Linked DNA regions of Homo sapiens: region 1 is linked to region 2. The links are contacts of gene promoters, found by promoter capture Hi-C in human tissues and cell types (Jung and others, 2019). All regions are on one chromosome and are shown on one strand. The core of a region is centred on a gene start or on the middle of the fragment in contact, and the rest is flanking DNA. Distances in the headings are between cores, read along the strand shown. Region 1 has its middle 19 kb from the start of OR6B3. Region 2 holds the start of OR6B2 (olfactory receptor family 6 subfamily B member 2).

Evidence for each region. The method cuts DNA at HindIII sites, captures the fragments that hold promoters and counts their contacts. A contact is called where the count stands out against the background at its distance.
Region 1: a contact is called between a fragment that was not itself captured here and the fragment with the promoter of OR6B2 in region 2, in 2 of the 25 tissues and cell types used here (dorsolateral prefrontal cortex and liver).

What each region holds. Positions count from the first base shown.
Region 1 is chr2:240,069,522-240,076,397 of GRCh38, reverse strand. No RefSeq gene overlaps it. Among named protein-coding and RNA genes, the nearest start is that of OR6B3, 19 kb to the right of the region's middle. The HindIII fragment of the contact is 5,248 bases long and covers 1,985-6,876 here.
Region 2 is chr2:240,029,076-240,036,093 of GRCh38, reverse strand. OR6B2 (olfactory receptor family 6 subfamily B member 2) reads left to right here and starts at 5,665. Exons shown (of 1, transcript NM_001005853.1): 1 at 5,665-6,603. The coding sequence starts at 5,665. The coding sequence ends at 6,603. The HindIII fragment of the contact is 5,539 bases long and covers 1,050-6,588 here.

The DNA.
Region 1 (6,876 bases), core at 3,359-5,858, 41 kb before region 2:
TTTCTTGTTTTTCACCATGATCTCTTTTACCTGTCTTCATCTTTCTTGAAAACATTTACTTTTCTGGAATACACCATGTACAACTGTCTCATTGTTTATTTGATAAAGGGGATGGGCCAGAATCTTGTCTTGTGATGTCTGTGCACACATCTGGGGACATACCTTTCTCTGTCTCCAGTTCCTGCAAAGCACCACTCTTTAAACCTGTGGATAGGCACCTTCTTATACCCTATGAGAAAACTGGGGAAGAGCTGACTGATCCAGATTGGTCCAAAAGTAGCTCCCAAGAGCATCACCTGGTGGATGGCCCAGAGTCTCTTCCTGTGTCCTGCATCTGTTCATACAGCCCCGCCATGCCCACCCCTTAGCAATCTTCTGTATATATTTGGGGCTTTGTACTGTATCGCTTACTCTACAGATTTTTTTTCCTTTCTGAAGAATTCTTCAAAATGCCTTCTTGCTGATGACATTTTTTCTTGATTTTCCAAATGATTATGGATTTATTACATTCAGAAACTATCTTTTGTATTATCTACTGGGATCTGGTGTGGGAGAGAGAAAAGAAAATATGCGTATTCAGCCATCTTGATACAATACGGCTTTAATTTGTATAATGACATAATCAATGACACTTATGTCAGCCAAGTATTTTGATATTTATTATGAATTTTTTATTACCTTTCAAATGAATTAAAGCTGTCCTTTGCTATCTGTCTCTATTCTAGTCCTATAAGAAGTGAGTCAGCCATCACTTTGAACTGTTTACTAAGAATCCCAGTGCTTGTTTTTTGCAACCTGAAAGTAACATACTCCCCCGGGGTTCTACCTTCAGACTAACTCTGTGCAGACTAACAGGCAAACTAACAAGCTTGAAACTCTTGCCTCATTAAGGAGTTTCTAATGAGCTAATCAAACGTGGGTAGAGTTTGGCCAAAGAAAGGCCCTTAGGGAATCTGGATTCTGAGACAGAAAGGAGAGGGAAGTAAACCCTGGAGACCTCAGCCTAGACAACATGAAGATCCTAATGAGCTGGGCCTGGCTGGCAGCCGGCTCAGTAAGCACATGCAGTCAGACAGCAGATCATAAGGATCCTGGGCTTTTGGCCCCAGCCTCTAGTGAGATAGCTTGGCCAGCTGCATCTTCTAAGGGATTCAAGTTGCCAAACCACCCGCATCTGCAAAGGCAGGCCTCACCATCCATAGGCCCAGATGAGCAACCCATCCCCATGCAAAGCTCCTCCTTTGTCTAAGCCATCAAAACACTGGGGTCCACATAGCTCAATATCTCATGGGACTAGAATCAGAGAACCTGGAAATATTCAGAAGTTCACTTAGTCCAATCCCATCATAAAATGAAGCCTAGACAAACTAAAATTTTACAAGCTGCATGCATTTTACAAGCCACATAAATTCCAATGTCAATCATAAAGAGAAAAGGTGCAAAAATGACAAAAGTTTGAAAAAGAACAATGAGGTGGGATTTTTTTTCAACCAGATGTTGACATTTATTACAAAAGTAGTGATTTCTGGTGCTGTTGGCTTCCTAGAAAGTCAACCATTTGGTCTGTTATCAGGCGATTAGCATCGCCACCCTTCCATGACAGAGACCAGACATGCAGATGCCAGCGCTCGGTCCCCCTTGCAGCTGCAGTATCCATATTTGATGCAGTTGTGATTCATCATTTGGAAATCATCTGGGAAATACTTTCCTCCTGATCAAAAGCGACAGTAGGGCAAGATAGACTCTGTAGAAGAGATTAATGGCTGTCCTTTAACACTGATTTCCTTGTGTGATGTTGTAATAGAATCCTTGTTGATAGCTGTTGCATATTCACCCAGAATAAAGACAGGAGCTTTCATCCTCCTGCAAAACACTGTGGTCATGTAACCAAGTTGCAGTTAAAGTAGTATAGCCAAAGTGTCACACAACAGCGTCCCAGAACCTTCCAAAGACACAGCACGATATGTCTGCTGCCCTCTCATTTTTCTCTTCCTTTAGCCTGCTATTTATTAGGCAGATGTCACCATGTGGAGCCAGGACTTCAAGTTCAACATTGGTGGAGCAAAAAGGCAGAAGGAATGTGAGTTACCATCATGCACCAGTGCTGCACCACCTGCCAGGAACTTCACATAAAAATAAACGACCCTGGCCGGGCGTGGTGGCTCACACCTGTAATTCCAGCACTTGGGAAGCCGAGGCGGGCAGATCATGAGGTCAAGAGATTGAGATGATTCTGGCCAACATGATGAAACCCCATCTCTACTAAAAATACAAAAACTAGCTGGGCGTGGTGTCACGTCCCAGCTACTCGGGAGGCTGAGGCAAGAGAATCGCTTGAACCCAGGAGGCGGAGGTTGCAGTGACCCAGATTGCACCACTGCACTCCAGCCTGGGCAACAGATTGAGACTCCGTCTCAAAAAAAATGACCCTTTCTTTTATTTAAGCCACTGTTGTTTGGGTTTTCCATCACTCACAGCTACTTGAACCATAAGTAACAGGACTTTTCTCCATGTGCCCTTCCTTTCTGTCTGTGGCTTTGTGGGAGCAAGGTATGATGTCTGGAGCTACGGTAGCCATCTTCATGCCATGAGTCAACCACCCTGAGCATGAAAGTCAACACTCTGAGGAGGGGCGAGGAGGAGGAAGAAAAAACCTGCACCTCTGAGCACTTGAAACAACCTTCAGACCAACCAGTCCTGGGCTTGTTATGCATGGTAATAGCACTATTAATTTTAAACCACTTTTAGTCAAATATTGGTTGCTTTCAGCCAAAAACATCCTAAATAAGTCAGATATGTTAATTGAAACTAAATTGTTAGTGGAGAAATAGACAAACAGATCAGTAGAACAACCTCTAGAGTCCAAAACAGATGTTTGTAAACATGGGATTTCAGACCAGTGGAGTTTGGGGCAATAGGCTTTTTACTTGGGGGAAAAGTGAGAATCCTACCTCAAATAATACAAAGAATAAACTCCAGATGGATTGAAATCAAAATATAAAAGTAATACAAATAAATAGAAGAATATTTTTGTGGTCTTGGAGTAGAGAAGTTTTTTTTATAAAGCTACAAATCTTAGAGGAAATAAAAAAAATTTAAGCTTCTCTATAATGAAGGACACTACAGATGAAGTTGGTAGATAAATAGAAAAACCTGGAAACAATATCCAAAACATGCTAGGCGAGTGAAAAATAATTATTGGGATATATTGAGAATTCTTACACATCAATAAGAAAAAGATTTTTAAAAAACTAACTGGAAGGCCAGGCGTGGTGGCTCACACCTGTAATTCCAGCACTTTGGGAGGCCGAGGCAGGTGGATTATGAGGTCAGGAGATCGAGACCATCCTGGCCAACACCGTGAAACCCCGTCTGTCCATTGAGATGGACAGACTGGACTCCATCTCAAAAAAACAAAACAAAACAAAACTAACTGGAGATGGACAAAGGTTAGAAACGCACAAATATAGGAGAGGAAATACAAATGAACGATCAACATGAAAAGATTGTAAGTCTCAATGATAAACATCAATTTTCCATGAACAAAGTAAACTATGAGGTTAAATATGCTCAACCTCAATGAAGAGACATTAAATTTCAATGATTGGGGAAAATAAAACCCGAAATAGTTATGTTTTGTTCATAAGTTTGTCAAACATTAAAAGGATCGCTGGCACCTGGTTTTTGATAAGAATGTCATCTTCACTTGGTTATCTCAGAGATCTCTCATAATGGACCTATCCAAAAAAATCCTCTCTTAATCTTTCCTTCCCAATCTCTTCTTTATTTCATTTCTGGATCTTCCATTCATCACTCAAGCCAAACATCTGAAATTCTTAAAAACATCTTTTTCTTTCTCTTATAATATCTAACTTATTTCCAGTCATAACCTGCATCATTAAGACATTTAAAAGTGGAAACAAGGCCCAGCACAGTGGCTCATGCCTGTAATCTCAGCACTTTGGGAAGCCGAGGTGGGCAGATTGCTTGAGCTTAGGAGTTCGAGACCAGCCTGAGCAACACGGCAAAACCCCACCTCTACAAAACATACGAAAATTAGCCGGGCATGGTGGTGCACACCTGTAGACCCAGCTACTTGGGAGAATGAGGTGGGAGGATCGCTTGAGCCCAGGAGGTTGAGGCTGCAGTGAGCTGTGATCATGCCACTGCCCTTCGGCCTGGACAACAGAGTGAGAACCTAACTCAAAGAAAAGAAAAGAAAAGCGAAAACAATAACACAAGTTTTAGCATATGTAGGATAACTTCATTCATGTTAAAAATATTCAATACATATCCATGTGAAAATCAATGTATATAAATGCAAAGGCAAATAACTGGGTGATGTAAGTCTATTTACATCACTTACTTCTGCCAAGGATAATGGGGAAGGAAAAGGGAGATTGGAAAGTAAGAGGGGGCTTCAGTGTCTCATTTCTTATTCTTATAAATTTATAGACTTCTTTCCATGTGACTGTGTTTCCAAGAAATAAGATAGCTGAATCGATAAACTTATTGTTTTAAAAAATATGAACTAACAGACAGCTACAGCTATTATGACAATTCCCCATAAATACCCAAACCCATTTTCCATGTTTTATTTATATGTTCTAAACGCTTTGTTGCATATTCCTCCAGATTATATATTTCTGGGTGCCTATCTCTGTGTCTGTCTGTTATTTTCTCCCTCTCTTTTTCTGACAGAGTCACAGTTTTTCTCTATATGGGTGGACTACAGTTTACATGCTTTATTTAACCAATGTCCTATTGAAAGATTTTTTTTTTTTTTTTTGGCAGGGTCTCACTCTGTCACCCAGGCTGGAGTGCAGTGGCCCGATCTCAGTTCACTGCAACCTCTGCCTCCCGGGTTCAAGTGATTCTCCTGCCTCGGCCTCCCGAGTAGCTGGGATTACAGGTGCACATCACTATGCCCGGCTAATTTTTGTATTTTTAGTAGAGATGGGGTTTCACCATGTTGGCCAGGCTGGTCTCGAACTCCTGACCTCAGGTGATCTGCCTGCCTTGGCCCCCCAAAGTGCTGGGATTCTAGGCCTGAGCCTCCATGCCCGGCCCCTACTGAAAGATTTATAAGTTGTTTCTTATATATTTATAATTTGTTTCTTATATTTCCATTGTTTCCTAAGGGACTGCAACAAAAGTCTGTCTGCACCAGAACAATGATTTTTGGAGGCGAGATTCATAATAATAGATGAAGAGTGTCAGAAGGTAGGTTCCTTTTACAAGGGCTGATAAATTATCCTCCAAACATGAAATGCTAATTAACACTTCAAAGTGCTGAGTTGGCCTATTTCCCCACAACCTGTGATGATTAAATTTAATTAGTATTTTTGAATTTCAGCTACTCTGACAGGCCCGAAGAAAAAATAATACTTCAATGTTATTTGTCAAACCGTATTCACTTAATTTTAAGTGATGTCAATCATATTTTCTTACATTTTTTGGCCACTGATAATTCTTTTTTTGAAGTTTTAAATCATATTCCGTGTTTATCTTGGAATATAGAAGCTGTTGGAAAGTTTACCTTTCGTGAATCCATTTTTTAAAATTACTAGAAATTTGACCAAATGATGCTTGACTTGGGATAAAACATCAATTTAAGAAAAATAAATGTTCAAGAAACACAGCAGTGAATAATGAATTCAGAGGCCGGACTTCCAAAATGGTGGCATGAGGGTTTCTATAAATCTGATCCTCCAGGCCAGGTGCAGTGGTTCATGCCTGTAATCCCAGCACTTTGGGAGGCCGAGGGGGGCAGATCACTTGAGGTCAGGAGTCTGGCCTGGCCAACTTGGTGAAACCCCCATCTCTACAAAATATACAAAAAAAATTAGCTGGGCATGGTGACAAATGCCTGCAATCCCAGCTACTCGGGAGGCTGAGGCAGGAGAATTGCTTGAATCCAGGAGGTAGAGGTTTCAGTGAGCCAAGATTGCGCCACTGCACTCCAGCCTGTGGGACAGAGACAGACTTGTCTCAAAAAAAAAAAAAAAAAAAAAAAAAATTCCTCCATTAAAGTAACAAGAATACTGGCAAAATTATCAAAGTCAACTTTTTCAAAATTCCAGAAATTAGCCAAAGTTCATGACGCTCTGAAAAGTGTTTACAAAAGAAAAATGACTGAAACTTGGTTAGAATAGCAAGGGCTATGGCATTTTAACTTGATATCTCTCATCTCATCTTTCCCACCAACATGGTGTGGTAGCCTGGAAAACCAGCTGCCTTGCAGCCACCAAAAGGGAAAGGCTGGTTTTGAAACTTCTCAAGAAGACAACCCTAGAGCATTGTCACTGTGACCTGCAGTTCCCCAAGAAATCCGTATTTATGTCATGGCTATTGGATCTGACCCAGAGAGCTCAGTTATACCCCTAGGGCATTGTTGAAGAGTCAGCAGCAATTGTTTACCTTTGCAATTGCCTAATGCTGCAATATCATTATTTCTAGGGCAAATAAGAACTCAACTAAAAATGTAAAAGAAAGACATGGGGTGTAAGATATCCAGAGGCTTTGAAAAGCTCCTATGTATTCCTGGGGATCCAGAAGTCTGCATACAAGCATATGTCTGCATGCCTGCCCAGGAAAGACTAGAGGAGCCCAGTCAGTCACCTCTGGCTGACCTTGAGGCCCTGTACAAGCAGAAAGTAAAGGTTAAGACAGATTTGAAGGAGTGACTCTAACACACACAGATACCCTTAGGAAAGGGTGGAAGACTTACTGGCTGATGGCATTTAAGAAAATCTAAATGAACATTGACTGACAATTAAGTCAAGGTGAGTCAAGGGTGACTCTTAGAAAGCCAAGCTTAAAAATAAAAACCAAAATTTAAAAAATACCCAGAGGCTTCAGTGGCCATAAACTGTA
Region 2 (7,018 bases), core at 4,416-6,915:
AAGAGAAAGAAATAAAAGGCATCCAAATTGGGAAGGAGGAAGTTATATTAGTCTTGTTTGCAGACAACATGATCTGATAGTTAGAAAAACCTAAGAACTCCACCAAAAAAAAAAATGTTTAGAACTAATAAACGAATTCAGTAAAGTTGCAGGATACAAAATCAACATGCAAAAGTCAGTACTATTTATATATGCCAACAGTGAACGATCTAAAAAAAAATTAAAAAGCAAACCCATGTATAATAGCTATGAAGAATATAAAATACCTAGGACTCAATTTATCTAAAGAAGTGAAAGATCTGTAAGATGAAAACTATGAAACACTAATGAAAAAAATTGAAGACGACACAGAAAATGGAAAGATACTTCATGCTTATTAGTTGGAAGGATTAATATTGTTAAAATGACAATACTTCCCAAAGGAATTTGCAGATTAAATGTAATCTCTATCAAAATACCAGTGATATTCTTCAAAGAAATAGAAAAAAAATCCTAAAATTTATATGGAATCACAAAAGACCCCTAATAACCAAAGCAATCCTGAACAAAAAGAACAAAGGTGGAGGCCTCACACGACGTGACTTCAAGATATACTATAAAGCTACCGTAACCAAACCAGCATGTTACTAGCATAGAAACAGACACATAGACCAATGGAACAGGATAGAGAACCCAGATATAAATCCACACATTTACAGTGAACTCCTTTTCAACAAAGGTGCCAAAGACATATGATGAGGAAAGGATAGTCTCGTCAATAAATCGTGCTGGGAAAACTGGATATCCATATGCAGAAGAATGAAACTAGACCCCCATCTCTCACCACATACAAAAATTCAATCCAAATGGATTAAAGACTTAAATCTAAGACTCAAAACTATAAAACCACTAGAAGAAAACATTGCGGAAACACTCCAGGACATTGGTCTGGGCAAAGAATGATCTTGTGTAAGACCTGGAAAGAACAGGCAACCAAAGCAAAAACAGAGAAATAAGATTACATCAAACTAAAAAGTTTCTACACAACAAAGGAAACAATCAACAGAGTGAAGAGACGACCCACAGAAAATGTTTACAAACTATCTATCTGACAAGGGATTAATAACCAGAATATATAAGGAGCTCAAACAACTCAGTGGCAAAAAAAAAGCAAAAAACCCAAATGATCTCATTTAAAAATGGGCAAAAGATCTGAATATATATTTCTCAAAAGAATACATACAAATGGCAAACAGGTTTGTAAAAAAATGCTCAACATCACTAATAATCACAGAAATGTGAATCAAAACCACAGTGAGATGCCATCTCATCCCATTTAAAATGGCTTTTATTTTAAAAAAGACAGGGAATAATAGTTTTTGGTGAGAATGTAGAGAAAGCAGAACCCTCATTCATTGTTGATGAATATACATTATTTTTGGTGGAGTTCTTAGGTTTTTCAAACTATCAGATCATGTTGTCTGCAAACAAGACTAATATAATTTCCTCCTTTCCAATTTGGATGCCTTTTATTTCTTTCTCTTGCCTGATTGCTCTGACTAGGACTTCCAGTACTACGATTGAACAAAAGTGGTGAAAGTGGGCATCAGTACAGCCACTATAGGCAACACAATGGCGGTTTCTCAAAAAAATAAACATAGAACTACCATAAAATCCAACCTTTCCACTACTGTGTATATCTCCAAAAGAAAGCAAATCAATACATTGAAGAAATATCTGCACTCCCATGTTTATTGCAGCCCTATTCACAATAGCCAAAATATGGAATCAATCTAAGTGTCCACCTCAATGGATGAATGGATTAAAAAAAGTGGTACTATATGCAGTGGAATATTATTCAGCCATAAAAAGAATGAAATCTTGTTATTTGCAGCAACATGGATGGAACTGGAGGTCATTATGTTAAGTGAAATAAGCCAGGCACAAAGACAAATATCGCATGTTCTCACTCATATGTGGGAGCTTAAAAAGTGGATCTCATGGAAATAGTAGATTGGTGGTTATGAGAGGCTGGGAAGGGTATAGGGGACTGCGGGATGAAGCGAGGTTGATTAATGGATACAGATGTATAGTTTGATAGAAGAAATAAGACTGAGCATTAGAGATCAGTAAGGTGACTATAGTTTTCAGTAATCTATTGCATATTTCAAAATAGTCATAAGAGAAATAATTTGAATGTTTCTGGTATAAAGAAAAGACAAATATTTCAGGTGATGAATAGCCCATTTACACTGATTTGATATTTACAAATTATAATTGCATTCAATTATCATATGTACTCCAAAAACATATTCATCTATTATGCATAAATTTGAAAATAATAAACACTCATATAAGGAGACACACAGAAGAGATCTGACACACAGATCATGGGAGGTGACGTGACCTGAGATGCAGAGATCAAAGTGTTGGTGCCACAGACCCTGAAGCCAGGAGCCCCCAGAAGCTGGGAGAGGCCAGACAGGGTTTCTCCCCTGGCAGCTGGGAGAGGCCAGAGAGGGTTTCTCCCTTTCCTCATCTGGCAGGGGAGGAAAAAGGAATGTCCTGGCTGGGTGTGGGATTGTAGGAAGTGAGGGAGGGGGCGGGCTGATGCGGAAGGAGAACATTCCAGAGGGCACAGTGAGTCCCAAAGCCCCAAGCGGGGTGGCAGGAGCCAGCCTATCTGAGGAGCACCTGGGGCCATGGAATTAGAGTGGCGAGAACAGGGGAGGTCGGAAAAATTGGACCAGAGAGGAAACAGAGGTCAGGTGGGACAAATTCTTCCCTCAGAGGGTGCGGGCTGTGCAGGAACAAGGGTGGCCCATGGACAGCAGCTCCTCCAGTAGGGAGTGTGGGAGATAGATAGCCACTGAGGAGGGCGAAGGGCCCAAACAGGGAGCCAGGAGCGGGCTCAACAGCCTCTGCTTGGGTGCCCTCAGCCAGGCAGGGGCCAGCCTGGCCCCAGAGGCACAGGCTCACCTAATTGGCAGTGTGGGCCTTTCCATCATCAGGGGGATAATTGGACCCTGGAGTCCCTATGCTCATCAGAAAAAGCCACAGTGGTTTCTCCCCAGTGCCTCAGGCAGCCCACTTCTCAAGAGCATGTTCAAGGCTCGTCTGGTCACTGTGGCCAGACTGGGAGTTGCTGGACACAGGCAGAAGCCACTCTTCACTCCTGCAGGCAGCTGCAGCCGTTTGCAGTGAGGCTTCCAGACGCCCCAGGTAGGATCCAGCACTTTCCATGTTGCCGATGGGCTCCTTTCGCTGTGATTTTAGGGTACGTTGTATTCCTTGCATGGGGAGAGAGCTCTTCTTTTATGTGTGTGATTGACAATCCCCACTCCACATGCCCCCCACATACAGTCTGGAGCAGGGACTCCCCTCTGCAGTCTCACGGCCAGCACCAAGCAGGATGGCTCATGGATGCTCCATAAATGGCCCTTGCATTTTTGAGTACTGTGCTGGGTACATATTCACAGGCATTGGGTTATGCCCTGATGTCTAACATCATACCCAGAATCAGCCAGCAGCCTCAGGTGGCTGAATGGGGCAGACAGCATTTGCTCACTCATCATTGACGAGGACTGGTTCTGGGTGGCTCTGCCAGGCACCAGGGAAGGCATCAGAGTAAATGGCTGCAGGCTGATGGTAGGTGCAGCCGGGAGGAGCTACTGCAGTACCCGTCTCACGGACCACCCCAAAATACATCCGTTCTGTGGTACGGAAAGCTTCACTTTCCTCTCTCAGATTGGAGACCTAGGTTTGAATTTGTGACTGGGCAAAAACAGTCTTTGTAACATATTGGAGAACCTTGTTTACGATGAGAGGATGCCAGCCTCCCTCGGCAGCGTCCGCTTGGACTTTCAGTCTGTCCACAGAAACCAGGGAGGTACAGCCAAGTTAAAAAGGCAGCCATGCCCGCAGCGATGGGGTACCCTGGAACAGAAACGGGCATTCGAGGGAAAAAAAGATGAAAGCCAAAGTCTGGAGTTTAGTCCACAGTAATACCAATATCAATCCCTTACTGTGACAAATATACCCTCTTCATGTAGGAAGTTAGCCTTGGAGGAAGCTGAATGGAGGATCTCCCAGAGCTCTCTGCACTCTCTTTGTAACTTTTCTGTAAATCTAAAATTATTCCAAAATAAAAAGTTTATTTAAAAGAAAATGCAGCCATTGTCTAACAAGTTCAGGGGATGGATAGAGTGTGCTGTAAAGGGCCCTGAATTTGTAAAGTAACACAGTTTCAATTTAATGAATCAATCCGGTATTAACTAGCCAACTCACTAATGATCAGTTACCACTATCCAAATAATCAAGAGAAATCTATAGGTGCCTCTACTGTTCTGGGTTAAAAGCACAAGAACCAAAGCTCACTACCCCCACCGCCAGCTCTCCCCAGCAAACCCAGTCAACAGGTGGGGGCTGCTGGCCTTCCAAGGAGCTCCTGTGGACCCCAACTTTCCTCCTTGTGGACTTTAAAGCCCCCTGTGGCCACTCAGCTGGGAAGAGGACACAGTCACCACCCTGGATGGTGTCTAGAGAGGCTACATTCAGACTCACATCTTGAGACCCCTTTAATGGCAGGGGTTCTTATTGCTTTTGTTTTGGGGAGACAGTAGGCGGTGACTGGAGTGAGTAGTAAATGCTTGTGAAATTGATCCTAAACTCTGAACTGCACGCTGGCATTTTAAGGCAGGGAATGGCCATGCCGCCCCAGTGGATGATCTTGGGTTCCCACAGAATGCTCACCCTAGACGGCAGGAGTACAGGTGCGTTTCCAAGTGTAAACCTGTCCCTGGGCAATTCCCTTCTAGAAGTTTGTTTTTCAGCCTGCAACTCTTCCATGAACTCGACTTGTCTAGCCAACCCCCTACACGTCACCATGAGGCTCTCCAGTAAGTGCCGCGCACCACGCCTCCCCAGCACAGACTCCAGATTATTCGGCACCCACCTGGCCCTCTCCTAGTCTTCTCATCAATTTTTAGCATCCTGGGCCAGAAACCTGGGGTCACCCTCCCCAGCTGTGAGCTGGTGGAAGTCTGCCATTCAACCCACCTAGACTGCCAATGAAAAGAACCACCAGATGCCCTGTGGGGCAAGGGGCTGTGGCTACCCTCTCTCTCCCCCACCTGTGGACCAGGTCCCCCAGAGCCAGGCAGCCCTTTCCTGGGAGCCCTCCCTGCATTCCTCCGGCTGGTTAGCCCAGTTTGGGGTTCTGCCCTGGTAGGCTGATAGCCCCTCACCTCATGCCGAGGCTGCTGCCCCGACTTGCAGGAACCCTCAGATGAAGGACCCTAAGGAGGGCCAGCTCTGTGTCCATGCCCACTTGGATCTTGAGAGCTGCCCCAGGCACGTGTGGACTGGTAGTGCCCCTGGACTCAGAGCTTTGGGTTTTGCCCACCCTGGAGCTGCCCGGCTCTGTTCCTCAGCATATACTCTCTTCCTCATTCCTACTTCATGGTTATATGTAAATGCAAGCACACAGAAGTTTTCTACTTTAAAACTCAGAAGATCAGCAGATCACTGCTCTCTCCTGGTGCTCTGGGGAGCCACGTGGCCTCTCTTTGCACCAAAACTCCCCATCCAAGTCCAGCTCCACTCTCTCTCTGCCTCAGCTGCCCTGCAGCCCTTTCCTCTTGCTCTTTGATGTTTTGTAGGCCTGCAGCTCCCAAGCACAGAGGCATGAGTGGGGAGAATGTCACCAAGGTCAGCACCTTCATCCTGGTGGGCCTCCCCACGGCCCCAGGGCTGCAGTACCTGCTCTTCCTCCTCTTCCTGCTCACCTACCTCTTTGTCCTGGTGGAGAACCTGGCCATCATCCTCATCGTCTGGAGCAGCACCTCCCTCCACAGGCCCATGTACTACTTTCTGAGCTCCATGTCTTTCCTGGAGATCTGGTACGTGTCTGACATCACCCCCAAGATGCTGGAGGGCTTCCTCCTCCAGCAGAAACGCATCTCTTTCGTCGGGTGCATGACGCAGCTCTACTTCTTCAGCTCCCTGGTGTGCACCGAGTGTGTGCTTCTGGCCTCCATGGCCTACGACCGCTACGTGGCCATCTGCCACCCGCTGCGCTACCACGTCCTTGTGACCCCGGGGCTGTGCCTCCAGCTGGTGGGCTTCTCCTTTGTGAGTGGCTTCACCATCTCCATGATCAAGGTCTGTTTTATCTCCAGCGTCACGTTCTGTGGCTCCAACGTCTTGAACCACTTCTTCTGTGACATTTCCCCCATCCTCAAGCTGGCCTGCACGGACTTCTCCACTGCAGAGCTGGTGGATTTCATCCTGGCCTTCATCATCCTGGTGTTTCCGCTCCTGGCCACCATACTGTCATATTGGCACATCACCCTGGCTGTCCTGCGCATCCCCTCGGCCACCGGCTGCTGGAGAGCCTTCTCTACCTGCGCCTCTCACCTCACCGTGGTCACCGTCTTCTATACAGCCTTGCTTTTCATGTATGTCCGGCCCCAAGCCATTGATTCCCAGAGCTCCAACAAGCTCATCTCTGCCGTGTACACTGTTGTCACGCCAATAATTAACCCTTTGATTTACTGCCTGAGGAACAAGGAATTTAAGGACGCCTTGAAAAAGGCCTTGGGCTTGGGTCAAACTTCACACTAAGACAACTAAATGTCCTAGAGTAAAATCTGTAGTGATGAAACAACATTGTATGTGGCACTTTGTGCTCTTTAAATTAATTTTTAAGTTAAATTTAACAAACCTACAGAACTAAGTGAAATTTAACAAACCTACACAACTGTGCACAAGTAACAAGCCTTCGTCTGCATATGTTTTCACAAAAGGACTGTGCTCATGGAACCAGCTCCCAGATCAAGAACTAGAAGCTGCCTTCACGCCCTCTCCCAGTCATTAACCCTTCTCCACAAAAAGCACTGTCCTGACTTCCAAAACCAGATGCTAGCATTGGTGTTTCTGAGGGGCTTACACATAAAGTATGTGCCCTGTTATGTTCAGCTTCTTTCATTCACCGTGTTGCTTGAGTGAATCCTTGATGTTTTTGCATGTAACAATAATT